2 separate regions of the Homo sapiens genome follow, and region 2 is linked to region 1. Evidence: promoter capture Hi-C in 16 types of primary human blood cells and fetal thymus (Javierre and others, 2016). All regions are on one chromosome and are shown on one strand. The core of a region is centred on a gene start or on the middle of the fragment in contact, and the rest is flanking DNA. Distances in the headings are between cores, read along the strand shown. Region 1 holds the start of ZNF746 (zinc finger protein 746). Region 2 has its middle 13 kb from the start of TRC-GCA11-1.

What was found. Contacts are between HindIII fragments. The CHiCAGO score rates a contact against its expected background, and 5 or more counts as called.
Region 2: a contact is called between a fragment that was not itself captured here and the fragment with the promoter of ZNF746 in region 1, in 3 of 17 cell types (neutrophils, monocytes and naive CD8 T cells). The highest score is 9.5, in neutrophils.

The regions. Positions count from the first base shown.
Region 1 is chr7:149,495,608-149,501,578 of GRCh38, reverse strand. ZNF746 (zinc finger protein 746) reads left to right here and starts at 3,770. Exons shown (of 7, transcript NM_001394198.1): 1 at 3,770-4,066. The coding sequence starts at 4,043. RefSeq lists silencers at 3,406-4,075, 4,316-4,375 and an enhancer at 4,509-5,452. The HindIII fragment of the contact is 2,699 bases long and covers 2,101-4,799 here.
Region 2 is chr7:149,424,876-149,430,899 of GRCh38, reverse strand. No RefSeq gene overlaps it. Among named protein-coding and RNA genes, the nearest start is that of TRC-GCA11-1, 13 kb to the right of the region's middle. The HindIII fragment of the contact is 5,723 bases long and covers 839-6,024 here.

The DNA.
Region 1 (5,971 bases), core at 2,521-5,020:
CACTGACAAAGTGAGCTGCAGCCCCCATCTCACACCCTGAGAGGCGGATGAGGGAATTGTTCCCATTTCAGGAGCAAGAGAGGGGTTTTGAAACATCAAATAAATTTTTTACTCTGGTCAATAAATCAAAATAATCTTTTAAAATTAAAACAAGCACAGAAGTTTTATAAAGGAGACAAGATTTAATGGATTGTTAAAGTATGACAATTTATCACACCTTCTGGCTCACCAAGGGCCATTTCAGGCAGCGTCCAGACCCACAGGACATACATTCACTTTTCTCTGTACTCAAGGGCTCTGGTATAGAATATTTTTGAGGCACTGGCCTCCAGCCAGCCAACCCCAGAGGACTGTGAGTCTCCCAGCTCCCAGCAGAAGGAAAGGAGGTAGCTTCTCAGAGCCATGGCCCTGACCATCCGCATCTGCAAATTTCACTGAGGGATTTGAGGCAGGAACTTGGCACTGGCTCCATGGGAGAGACTCCAGGGCCAGCTGCAAGTTCTCCAGCACTTCACCACATCTAACCGCTGCAGGGTAACGCTCAATGTGAGAGCACTCAGACAATGTAAGGGAAGTTAAGCTCGAGCAGACACCACCTGGAGCCCAAGGATGCCTGCTGCAATGCCTGGCCAACTTTCACCATGCCTTTGTATCTGTCAGGATAGGCTAGGTTAAACTGTGGAACAAGCAACCCCCAAACCATGTTACAACAAAAAGTTTCATGTTCATGCTGTAAGTAGCTCATCATGGGATGGCTGGGGAGTCTACTCAATGTCCCCCACCTCCAGGATGCAGGCAAATACAGCACCCACCTCCTCAAATATTGCTGGGTTACCATAGTAGAGGGAAAGAAAAAACATCAGCCAGAACTTGTCACATGGTCCAACCCAGCCAGAAGAAACCAGGAAGTGCCATCCAGCCATGGTCTTCAAGAGAAACCAGCTGGAAATATTTAGTGGGCAGCAATGATTACCACAGTCTTTTTGAAAACCCCAAGCCTGAACTTTTAGGCTGTGTGCCTGGTCCCAGGGGAAAAGCTCAGGCCTAAGGGAGCAGCTGGAAAAATAGAGGTCCACCTGTTCTGCTGTACCTGCTGGAGTATAGGAAGCACTCATAGGGGTGCATGGGTCCATAGTCCCTACATCTACACAGTCTATGTGCAGTATGAACCACACACTTCCTGCCTCCCTGACACCTTGAGTTGACATGTGGTCTCATGTTCTCTAGCCCTTCCAGGCTCCTTCTGGGTGTGTTGAAAATGCTTTATGATTTTTCTTCTAGGAATACTCAGCAGGAAGGTGGAGATGGTAGGGGCTGCAGAAGTATTAGAGCAGAGGAGGGGATGATTCTTTGGACCACAGTTGATCACACCACACAGAGCAATCAATTAAGACTTGTACTAAATCATTACTTTATGTTGCCTAAACCTGCCCAGTATTAGGCACTGCAGGAGAGACAAGAGAAATAAGATATAGTCCCTGCTCTCAGGGAACTTATAATCCAAGAGGTGAGTTAGGAACTACTACCTTGTATTGTAATTTTTTTCTCAGTGCCATATGAATGGCACCGAGAATAAAAATTATTAGAGTTGGGACAATGCAGAGCTTGCTGCAGCCGTGATTGGCATGGAGAGACTTAACTGGAAGAATTAGGGCATATGCTGGTCTGGAAAAGGTGTGAGAACTTCGGGTGGGCAAGAGGAGAGGGGAAAAGCATGAGGAAAGGCACAGGAGTGGAAACTCTCATGCCTGCTTTTGACACCTGTGCCCAAAATGGAGGGAAAGGCTTTGGAAGCCTCATATATCAATCCAAGGAGGTTTATCTTCGTTCTTTTTACAAATAGAGGCTGGAAAACCAGCACCAGAGATGCTCTGCAATAGATGCCTGTCTTCAGTGGAGGACAGAGCAAGTCATCATTACCCTAACTTGGCTGTCTGCAGAGCCCCAGCTTCACCCTTACCTCAACCCCTACAAGGAACTTGTTAAAAAGAGACCTTCTTTTAAAATAAGTTTTCTCCACATTACTCAGGACCCATCCCAAAGACATTTTGATTCAGTAGATATGAGATGGGATCCAGAAATCCATATCCTTCACAAGCTTCCCCAGAGACTGATGCAGCTGCTCTGAGAGCCAGGCTTGGAAATTACTACCTAGAGATGACCCTGGCATATCCGACTCAGCCTGTCAAAAGGGAACTTTTTAAATTGCACACTAAAAATGTCTCTTTATTTCTAATGCACTGTATTTCTGTCACCCAGTGGTGTGATCTCCACTCACTGCAACCTCTGCCTCCCGGGTTCAAGCGATTCTCGTACCTCAGCCTCCCCAGTAGTTGGGATTACAGGTGCGTGCCACCACGCCTCGCTAATTTTTTCTATTTTTAGTAGAGACGGGGTTTTGTCATGTTGCTCAGGCTGGTATCAAACTCCTGAGCTCAGGCAATCCACCCATCTTGGCCTCCCAAAGTGTTAGAATTACGGGCGTGAGCCACTGCGCCCGGCCCTAAAATGCTTTATATCTTCCTACATCAATTTTTTTTTGGGCTGTCATCCAGCTCACACCTCTACTACCACCCTCTGGTCTGAAATGCTCTCTGCCTATCAATATTTTGCCAATTCTTCAAGATCCAGCTCAAATTTTATCTATTCTGTAAGGTCTGCCTTCTTTGAAAAAGATTACAGATCTCTCACATATTTTCTTATCAGTGTGTGCTAGGCAGTTGGCTAGTTAGTCTTGGGGAATACACAGATGAGCAAGTCGTGTTCCTGAAAGGCAATGAGCCTCTGAAACTACGTGGGGGCCCGTCCAAGGCGCCCTCCTTCCCCTGCTCTGGTTGGCCTCTTTGAGAACATTTAAATTTTTATTTTTCTCTCCTTGTTTAAAAATACTATCCTTGTCATGGAAAAATAAAAACATGAATTGGAAAAAATTAGAAAAGGCATAAAAACGGCCCGTGGTCTATTAAAGGAATAGACCTTTAATAGAACTACTGAGGCCATGTTGATATATATGCTTCCAAACTTTTCAAAACTGTAATTATACATGTACGCAGTATATGACGCTACATATGTCCTATATTGTTTTAAAATGTTATTTTTAAAACAAAGACAGGATCGTCCTGGACAGGCTTTTTCTCTTAAAACATCATGAACATCTGTTCCTACCAAGACCTTCACCGAAATCATTTTAAATGATGGTATTGCGTCCCATTGCTCATGCCATTAAAAAAATTTACTGTAATAAACCCATTACAGAAAATGCTAAGTGGTTGCCTACCGGGGTTTACCGAACTATATTCCTGTTGTTGGAAGTATTTATTCCATTTCAAACACAGGTGGGCATGAGTTACATCTGTCCTCCCCAAAATAGCCTAAACCTCCAGACCCAGGACCTCGGGCAGCAGAAGTGCCCGTGGGGCGGGGGAAGGGGAGCCGGGCATCCCAGGGCGAGGGGGCCGCCCTGGCCGCGGTCACCCGGGGGACGCCCTGCCCGGAAGCCCGTGCTCGCCCGCGGGCGCGGCCAGGCGGGTCCCATGAGGGGGACCCTTTCAATAACCGAGTCCTCGGGCTGGGCCGCGGGGCCAGCGCAGTGACTCCCCCCGCGCTCGGCAGTCCGGCCGGGGTCGCGGGGTCGCGGGGTCGCGGGGTCGGCCCGGGGTCGCTAGGTCCTCCCGTCGGGCCCCGCGGGCGGGGCTGGGCGGGGCGGGGCGGGGCCGCGGGCAGGCGGGCGCAGCGCCTGCCGTTCGCCTCTCAGGCTGCAGGTGGGGCTGTGCGGCCGCGCTGCCTCCAGGAAGCCTCACGGGCCTTCGTCTGCCGGGCCGCGGCGCCGGCTCCCAGGATGCAGTGTGGACCGGCCGGGCGCTGACGGAGGCGGCGCGACTGCGGGCGGCGCGGCGCAGGGGCAGCCAGCGAGGAGCGGCGGCAGAGGAAAGGCCAGGCAGGCGCCGCCTGCGGAGAGCACCGGGCGGCCGGGCCTGCGTGGTGCCGCGCGCGGCGGCGGCGACGACGACTTCCTCCGGGCCGGGCGGGACAGCGCAGGGCCATGGCCGAGGCGGTCGCGGCTCCGGTAAGGGCGACCCGCGCGCGCAGGGACTCGCGGCCTGGGGGCCCCAGGCGGCCCGGCCCCGGCACACGGCGCCGCAGGCCCTGGGGAGGGGTTCCGGGGTCCGGGCCGGACCACCGGGCCTGGGGCTCCCGCGAATGGGGCGCGGGGTCCGCCGGGGCCTACTGCGCCCGTCGGCCGGGCCCCCACTCCGAGCCGAACCCGAGCGCTGGCGGAACGGTTGTCCCCGCCCCGGGCCGCCCCACGCCAAGTTCTTTGGGCCCTCCGGGGCTTCCTGCCCCCGCCCCAGCCGCTGTCCCCTCCTTCTGGGTGCCCCCCCACCCGCGGCTCCTTTCTCTGCCTGGCGCTCGGCCTGTAGGTCCCTCTCCATCTCCCCCGCAGCGGCCTGGTGGCACCTGGGAGGTGTCCGGCTTCGAATCCGCATACACCGACTCCCACTACGTGCCCAGCTTCCCGGGGTCGGCGCGGAAGGGAATATAGAGCCACGCACTTCCACAAGCCCTGTTGAGGCGTTAGTCTGTCCTCACAGCAAGCCTGTGGGATGGGTACTGGTGTTAATCTCTGTCATACAAAAGAAAAACCCGGGGCCTAGAGAACTTAACTTGCCCAGGCTTACCCAGCTGGAAAGTGTGAAAAGACACACAGTGGCTGTGTGTTCAAGGACCAGGCAGGCAGGTACGCGGGCAATAATCGTGCAAAACAGAAAGGGGTGAGTGCTGGCGCCCAGGTGGAAGCTTGCGGTGGGCTCCGGGGGAAGGAGTGTCAGGGGGCCTCTTGGTACCGCTGTCCACCCCTCCTGGCCTGATGCTCTGCGCCTCTGTGATTTGAGCCGGGCTTTTAGGGAAGGCTAGGATTTCAGGCCCAGCTAGACCGGTGGTGCTTTCAGGGAGGGAGGAGTGCCTGGGCAAAGGCGCAGAGAGACGGGACAGTGCAGGGCGTGTGCAGGCACAGAAAGGAGTCCATGAGCCTGGAGAAGATGGTTTTGGTTTGGAGGCAGTGGGAAAGGAGTCTGCAGAGAGAGACTAAGAAGGGGTTTGCATGCCTGGACTTCATCCTGCGGGTGGGCAGTGGATGAGGGATCCGGCTCCTCTTACCATCAGCTCCTCTCAAGCAAAGAGTTTCAGCTCCCCTGGCAGGAGTCCAAGGACAGCCCCACATATTCCAGCCACTTGTCAGTAAGAAGCTGGGCTGGAGTGAGCAGCGCACAGTCGCCACCTCCCACCACATAGTGTGAAGACCTTACACAGGGTTTCCTGGCCCCATCAGAACTGTAAGAAAACCATGCACCTTGTTGTCCATGAGTAAAAGACTAATATTTTCTTAATAAAGTAGTTTAGCAGAGGTCCCTTTCATGCCACACAAAGCCCATAATAATGCACGTGGAGGATGGGTAGGATTTCAGTGGATAAGGAGCTGGTGACCAGTTGAAAGGAAGCTTCTGGAGTAAACTCTTGGCGTCTGGGATCACGTGACAGGGATTGATCTGAGAAAGGAGAGGTGAGGGAAGGAACAGTGGCCTTAGGTGGAGGGTGGACTCAAGCCCAGAACCACGCTGGCCCACCCAGGTGCTGTAGGACCACCTACTCCTTGAGAGCAAGACTCCCACCCGCATTGGGGTTTTCGCCTAGAAACAGTTCAGCTTGTCCAGAATCTCCCAGCCTTGAAGACCCCTTAGAGTCCTACCTTCTTTGGGTCCTGCTTCCTTCCAAATAGATAGTATCTTAAGCACTGTCCTAGACAAGTTTGTTTCTCCCTCTGCTCAAACTCTCCTTTTGTCTCTATTTTTTGAGCTGTCCATCCGCATTCTAGTTCTCAGTGACTTTCTCTAAGTGAATCCACACTGGTTTCTAGTAGCTACTTCTTCATTTTGGAAATAATCACCAACCTTTTGTTGAGGAATTATTTTGC
Region 2 (6,024 bases), core at 2,451-4,950, 71 kb after region 1:
TGCGGAAGCCACAAAAGGCACCAGTCAGAACATTTTTTATTTGAATGTTGCACCAAAGCTACTCTGGACTTGCTGAACGCACTGACGAACCCTGGTTTCTCTAGGTATTCATTCATTTCCCATCTCCCTCCAGCTCTCTCTTATAGAAAGAGAAACTGCAGGAATATTTATTACGTTGCCCACAGAGCGATTTACTCTGCTGATGGGTTTGGCAGTGGCCCAGAGAGAATTCAGGCCATTCGAAGGGATAATTCATGGAGGCTAGCAGAGTGCACAGCTCAGCCTCGCACACTGGGGAAGCTGGGCTGAAAGCAGAGAGACTGGCCTGAGAGGAGAGCACTGCTGAAGCCAGGCCTGTCAAGTTGTGACAAGATACTTGAAGGGGGTTCAAAAAAGGGGATTTGGAGGAAGAAGGTGATACACTCTTGACTTTCAGGAGACCATAGAGATCATCAACTCCCTCTGCTTTGTATAAAGAGTTTGTAAGCTAAGCACAGAAAGGGGAAGTGATTGATAGCACAAGATCTCACATGTGAAGCTTCTCCATTTAGACTGAATTTCTAAGTCGATGATAGGACATATAGGGATGGTGGCCAGAGGAGGGAGCAGAGGTCTGGGCTGGTGTAAAGGACTGAGGGGCAGTTTCCACCAAGACCTGAAGCATCAGCTGCGAGGCTGGTGCAGATACGTGGGCAGGTAGTTCCGTAGTGTGCAGCCAGCTTCACCAGTTGCCAGGCAGAGGGGGCCTGCAGGAGGACAGCTTCCCCCAGGAGGTGGAATCTGAGCTGGGCCTGCGGGATGGAGAGGATTTCCATACATGAGAAAAATGAGGAAAGCTTTCTTGGTGGGGGTGGTCATAAAAGGAAAAGTGTGGAGAGTAGGCTGCATGTAAGATCAGGATGTAAGCAGTGATGGATTAAACCTCAGCTGGATGAAAGGGCCTGTCTAGGAAAAACAGGGCCAAATGTTGGTTTGGAGTAGACTAGGGGTGCAGAAAGGATCTAAGACTTCAAGGCTGCAGACTTTGAATTGGATCTTGTAGGAAAAACCATTGAAGATTGCTGAGTAGGAGAGAGAGATGATACAAATAGCTATCCAGGGACTGAATCTGGTAGAAGGCAAAGAAATCTAACAGTCAGGTGTGGGAGAACCAGCTCAGTTCCACGGACGGGTTGCAGATAACAGAACCCGTGGGTGGAGGTTGAAGGGATGGCAGGGGAAATGGTTCTTTTGAACGTGAGGATATTTGAAGTCTCAAAGAGTTGTTAGTGGAGGAATTTGGGGAGGTATTTGGTAGAGGGCTGTTGCTGCCCTAAATTTTTACTAGCTCTGGAATTGGAGGACCAAAGAGTGCTGGAAATATCCACCCTGAGTGGAGACGGAGGTGCTGTGGGGTAGAATCCATGTGGGAGACTCAGAGAGGAACTTCATTTGTTACATGAAGTTAGCAGGACATTATGGGGTCAAATGAGAATGGTGCTTGAGAGGCTTTCTTTTTCTAGGAAATCTGGGTGGTTTTTGTTTCGTTTTGCTTGTTTTCTGAGACAGGGTCTTGCACTGTCACCTAGGCTGGCATGTGGTGGCACCATCATGGCTCACTCTGACCTCAACCTCTTAGGCTCAAGCAGTCCTCCTGCCTCAGCCTCTCGAGTAGCTGGGGGACTACAGGTGTGCACCACCACACCCAGCTAATTTTTTTTTTAACTTTTTTGGAGATGGGGGAGTCTTTCTGTGTTGCCCAGGCTGGTCTCAAAACTCCTGGCCTTAAGCCATCTTCCCACCTCAGCCTCCCAAAGTGCTGGGATTACAGGTATGAGCCATAGCTCCCATCTGAAATTTGTTTTTTAAAAGGATTAAACCAAATATAGTCAAAGATTGGTATTTCTTTTTCTTTTAACTGACAATTTATTGCACCAACTAGAACAGCCTGGTTCGTGCATCCTTACGTCTCTGTCTATTGGGATACCATTTAAAGTCTTTCAGAACACGTCATAGTATGTCAAGATTGGTTCATCTTACACGTAGCTGGGCTGCCATGACTTCCCTGACTTCTACCTCCCCTTCCTTGGCTCTGACTCCCTCCTCATGCCTCTTCCTAAGTGCCCAGCACCCTGTGCCCCCCATCGTCTCTCCCCTTGTTCTGACTTCTTGCCACCATCTTGAATCTCACTTTCCATTTGCCCTAATCTCTGCTATTGGTTCCTAAAGTGTAGATAGCCTTTGGTGTCAAAAAGACGTGGCTTTAAACTTCATAGTTGTATGGCCTTGAACAAGTTAATTAACAGAACATCAATTTCCTCATCTGTCAAATAGGGATAATAAAGTTCCCATTGTTCTGAGGCTTAAATCACAATAGATACATAGCAAAGACACTGGCAGATACTAAGGTCTCAATAAGAGATTACTAATTTCAAACAGAAGTTCAAGTTGGTAGTGGGCTAGTGTTATATCCTAAAAGAATGAATCTTTGAGAAGGAAATTTCAGTAGGCAAATGTAGATTATTTTGGTGTGAGAAAGTACAAATTAAACCACAACTATATCATGGTCCTTATCTAGGAGTGGACAGGGTTTCAGTTCACCCCTTGGCCACACTCCAGAGTTTGCAGGAGGTAGTACCCCACCTCGCTGAGTTTTCTGGTCCTCTTTCACAGTGCTTTTCTTGGGTGCCCTTAATTTAATTAGACTTGTGAACTCCTAAGTTGCCTGTTGCTGTTGGCCCCATAAAGCTGTGTAGCAGAAGGAATAACTACCATTTATTGAGAGCTTCTTACTTTGGAAGACTTTACATACATCCCTTCATAACTCTGATGTATGTTTCATTACACCCATTTTATAGGTGGAAAGCTCCAGGCTCAGGGAGGTTAAGTAGGCCCAAAGTCACACAGCAACCAAATAGTAGAGCCAGGATTTGAACTCAGTTCTTTGACTCCAAAGCCCATGTGCTTGGCCAAAAAGTTGTTTTCCTGGGGCCAGTATCGTTGTTGAAAAAAGAAAAGCCAGCACCTCTTTTAAATTATTCCATTTTGCCTCCGGATTTTTTGACTGAAGATAAAATTGGGGGAAACAAAATATATTAAACAGAACATGCTCTGTGCATTTGCCAAAATGATGAACACAGTAAGAGGATAAAAAAGAATGTTTGAGGCAGGAAAAAACCCTTAGCGCTGAGCCCTAGCATTTTATAGCTGAGAAATGAAGAGGAGAGGAGTTGGGTCCTCCAAGGTCACAGGTGGGACAGGCAGGGCTGGTGCCGAGGGGATGCTCACTGTCTTACAGCCCTGCACCCCCCCCCCAGTATTTATTAATCACCACTTGTGTGCAAAGAATTGTGCTGGGCTCTGTGGAGAAACACAAGAGGATTAGGAATCCCTGGCTGCCTAGACAGCACTTAGCATCTGGTGGAGACTGGCAGCCTGGTTAAGCCTCTGGGGATCTGGAAAGCTGGGACCATCAGAGAGGCCTTTAGGCGGCTGTCTCTGATAAAGGACCGCATCCCCAGCTTTTCTTCATTCCTCTTCAGTGGATGTAGCCTGAACCAGCCAGGTGTCTGTGGGAGACCTTTCCTGAAGCACTGTGGTGGCAGCTCCTCAGATTAAGGGATCAGGGACAGAGGCCCTCCAGGCCCTACTGTTGCCAGGGCAACATTGAGTCAGGCCAGGGCCTCTCCTCCAGCGCTCTGGAAAGCATTACTGCTGCTGAAGCCTCTTGTTGCTTCCCAGTCATACTGGCAACTTCTAGATGACAATTTGTAAAAAAAAAAAAAAAAAAAAATCAACTTTGCATCTACCATTTCTAGTTGGTTTCCTTGAAATGAGGAATTTTAGTTAAAATATAGACTTTAGCCCTTTTATTTCTGTTTTCTACAAAGGACAGCTCCAGGTTAAATGATTTCTCTAAAAAAAAGAAAGAAAAGGAAGGTGAAAGGAAGGAAAAAAGGGGAAAAGACCAGGATAGAAAGAAAGAAAAGAAAACATTAAACATAGTACTATTGATCGCAACCTTACATGAAAAGTTCTGTTCAGAAGTCAGAACTAGCCATAAGTTTATTAAGGATAATAACTAAAATCACTACAATTCATTGAGTTTTACCATGTTGCAGTCACTGTGCCAGATCATAAACGCTTTCCTTTCATTTTATCTTGCAACAACCTGTGAAATTGGTATCTGTGTCCCCTTGAACAGATGAAGTTCAGAGAGGTTCAGCCATCAGCAGCCAAGGTCACACGGCCAGAATTTAAACCTAAGTGGGTGGGAACCCCAGCTGTGTGCTATTAACCACTGTTACATACTGCCTCCCAATTTCAACATGGATCCTTAATAAAAAGGGCAAAACATGACTATTTCTCTTTGATTTGCAGCTCTCACTGTCTATGGGCACAGCATGTGAGTCTGGACCTGCCTGAAAGCACAGTTCCCTGGCTGCCTGGCCAGCCAAGCCCAGGCGACATTGGGAGACGTCCTGAGGTTCACCTGACCAGGGTAGAATAGGTGTTCCTGGGCACACTGGTGGTTAGAACACCAATCCAGCCCCCGTTTTAGACTGAGTCCTCTATACCTTAGGGACTTTGGGGAGAGCACTGTTATGGCAAGAGGCCACCTTTCTCTGTTTATTTCTGACGTTGGGACCTAAGAAGCCATTTGTTTATCAGTCAGAGGAGTAGTTGCATGAAGGAGATTATTATAAGGAAGAAATACCTGCTCCCTAATAACACAAAATACACCCTTGACTCTAATCCTGCCGGCTCAGTGCTACCTCTAAGTTCTCACCATTCCCTCCCCGCCACTACCGCATGAATGAAACTCACTGCTTCTCTTTGTAAAATAATATCTCAAAATAACTCAAGTATTATAAGACAGGAGCATCACTGCTGTCTATTAATTCAGGTAATGGAAAGTTGAATTTTAATGACAAAATGTATCAGTGAAAATGTCTATCCCTGCTGGTAATTTTATTTAAAGAATGATTATCAGGACAACAGACTGTTTCTTCTTAAAATCAGTATAGTCTAATAAGTATAAAATCTTTTTAAAAATTAAATGCAATCAGCTCTTCATTTACCTGATACACAAATAATCAAATTATGCCCTCAAAGGATTGAAATAGCTTGGATTTAAGCTAAACTCAATTAAGAAAAGTAAACAAGTATGAAAGGTGAAACTTGCCATTTTTCCACAGAAGGTACCAGCCAAGAACTACATGGTCCCATGATCAAATTTGCTGCAGGTAAATTATGCAAATTCTAAAATTTAAGATTAAAAAAATTTATTTATTTATTTTTGAGACAGGGTCTTGCTCTGTCTCAGGCTGGAGTACGATGGTGACATCATGGCTCACTACAGCCTGGACCTCCCACATTCAGGTGATCCTCCCGCCTCAGCCTCCTGAGTAGCTGGGACCACAGGCATGAGCCACCAAGCCTAATTTTCTTATTTTTAGTAGAGACATGGTCTCATCTCACTACGTTGTCTAGGCTGGTCCCAAACTCCTGGACTCAAGCAATCCTCCATAGGCCTCCCAAAGTGCTGGGATTATAGGTGTGAACCACCGCGTCTGGCGTATACAAAAAAATTTCTGCTAGGTGTGGTGGTTCACACCTGTAATCCCAGCACTTCGGGAGGTCTAAGGAGGAGGATCGCTTGAGCCCAGGAGTTTGAGACCACCCTGAGCAACATAGTGAGAATCTGTCTCTTAAAAAAAATTCTGTATATATTTTTCGATTTGGATGATAGTCATCACTATAAATCACATTAATTTTGTCAAAAAGTAAAGACACTAAGTTGGTTCCCATAGTTACCCCCTGAACAATTTAATAATAATGACTGTCCAACTAAAATTTGTATTATTTCTTTCCCACTTTAACCCAGTGGTTCCTTACTGTGTCTTGAATTAATCAATGCCTTACCAAGCCAATTTATCCAGTGATGCATTCTGAAATAAGTTTGGGAAAAAAAAAAAACCTCAAATGTTTCAGAGTGCTGCTAAAAAAGCAAGTCAATATTCAGACCAATTTAAGCCAGTCTCT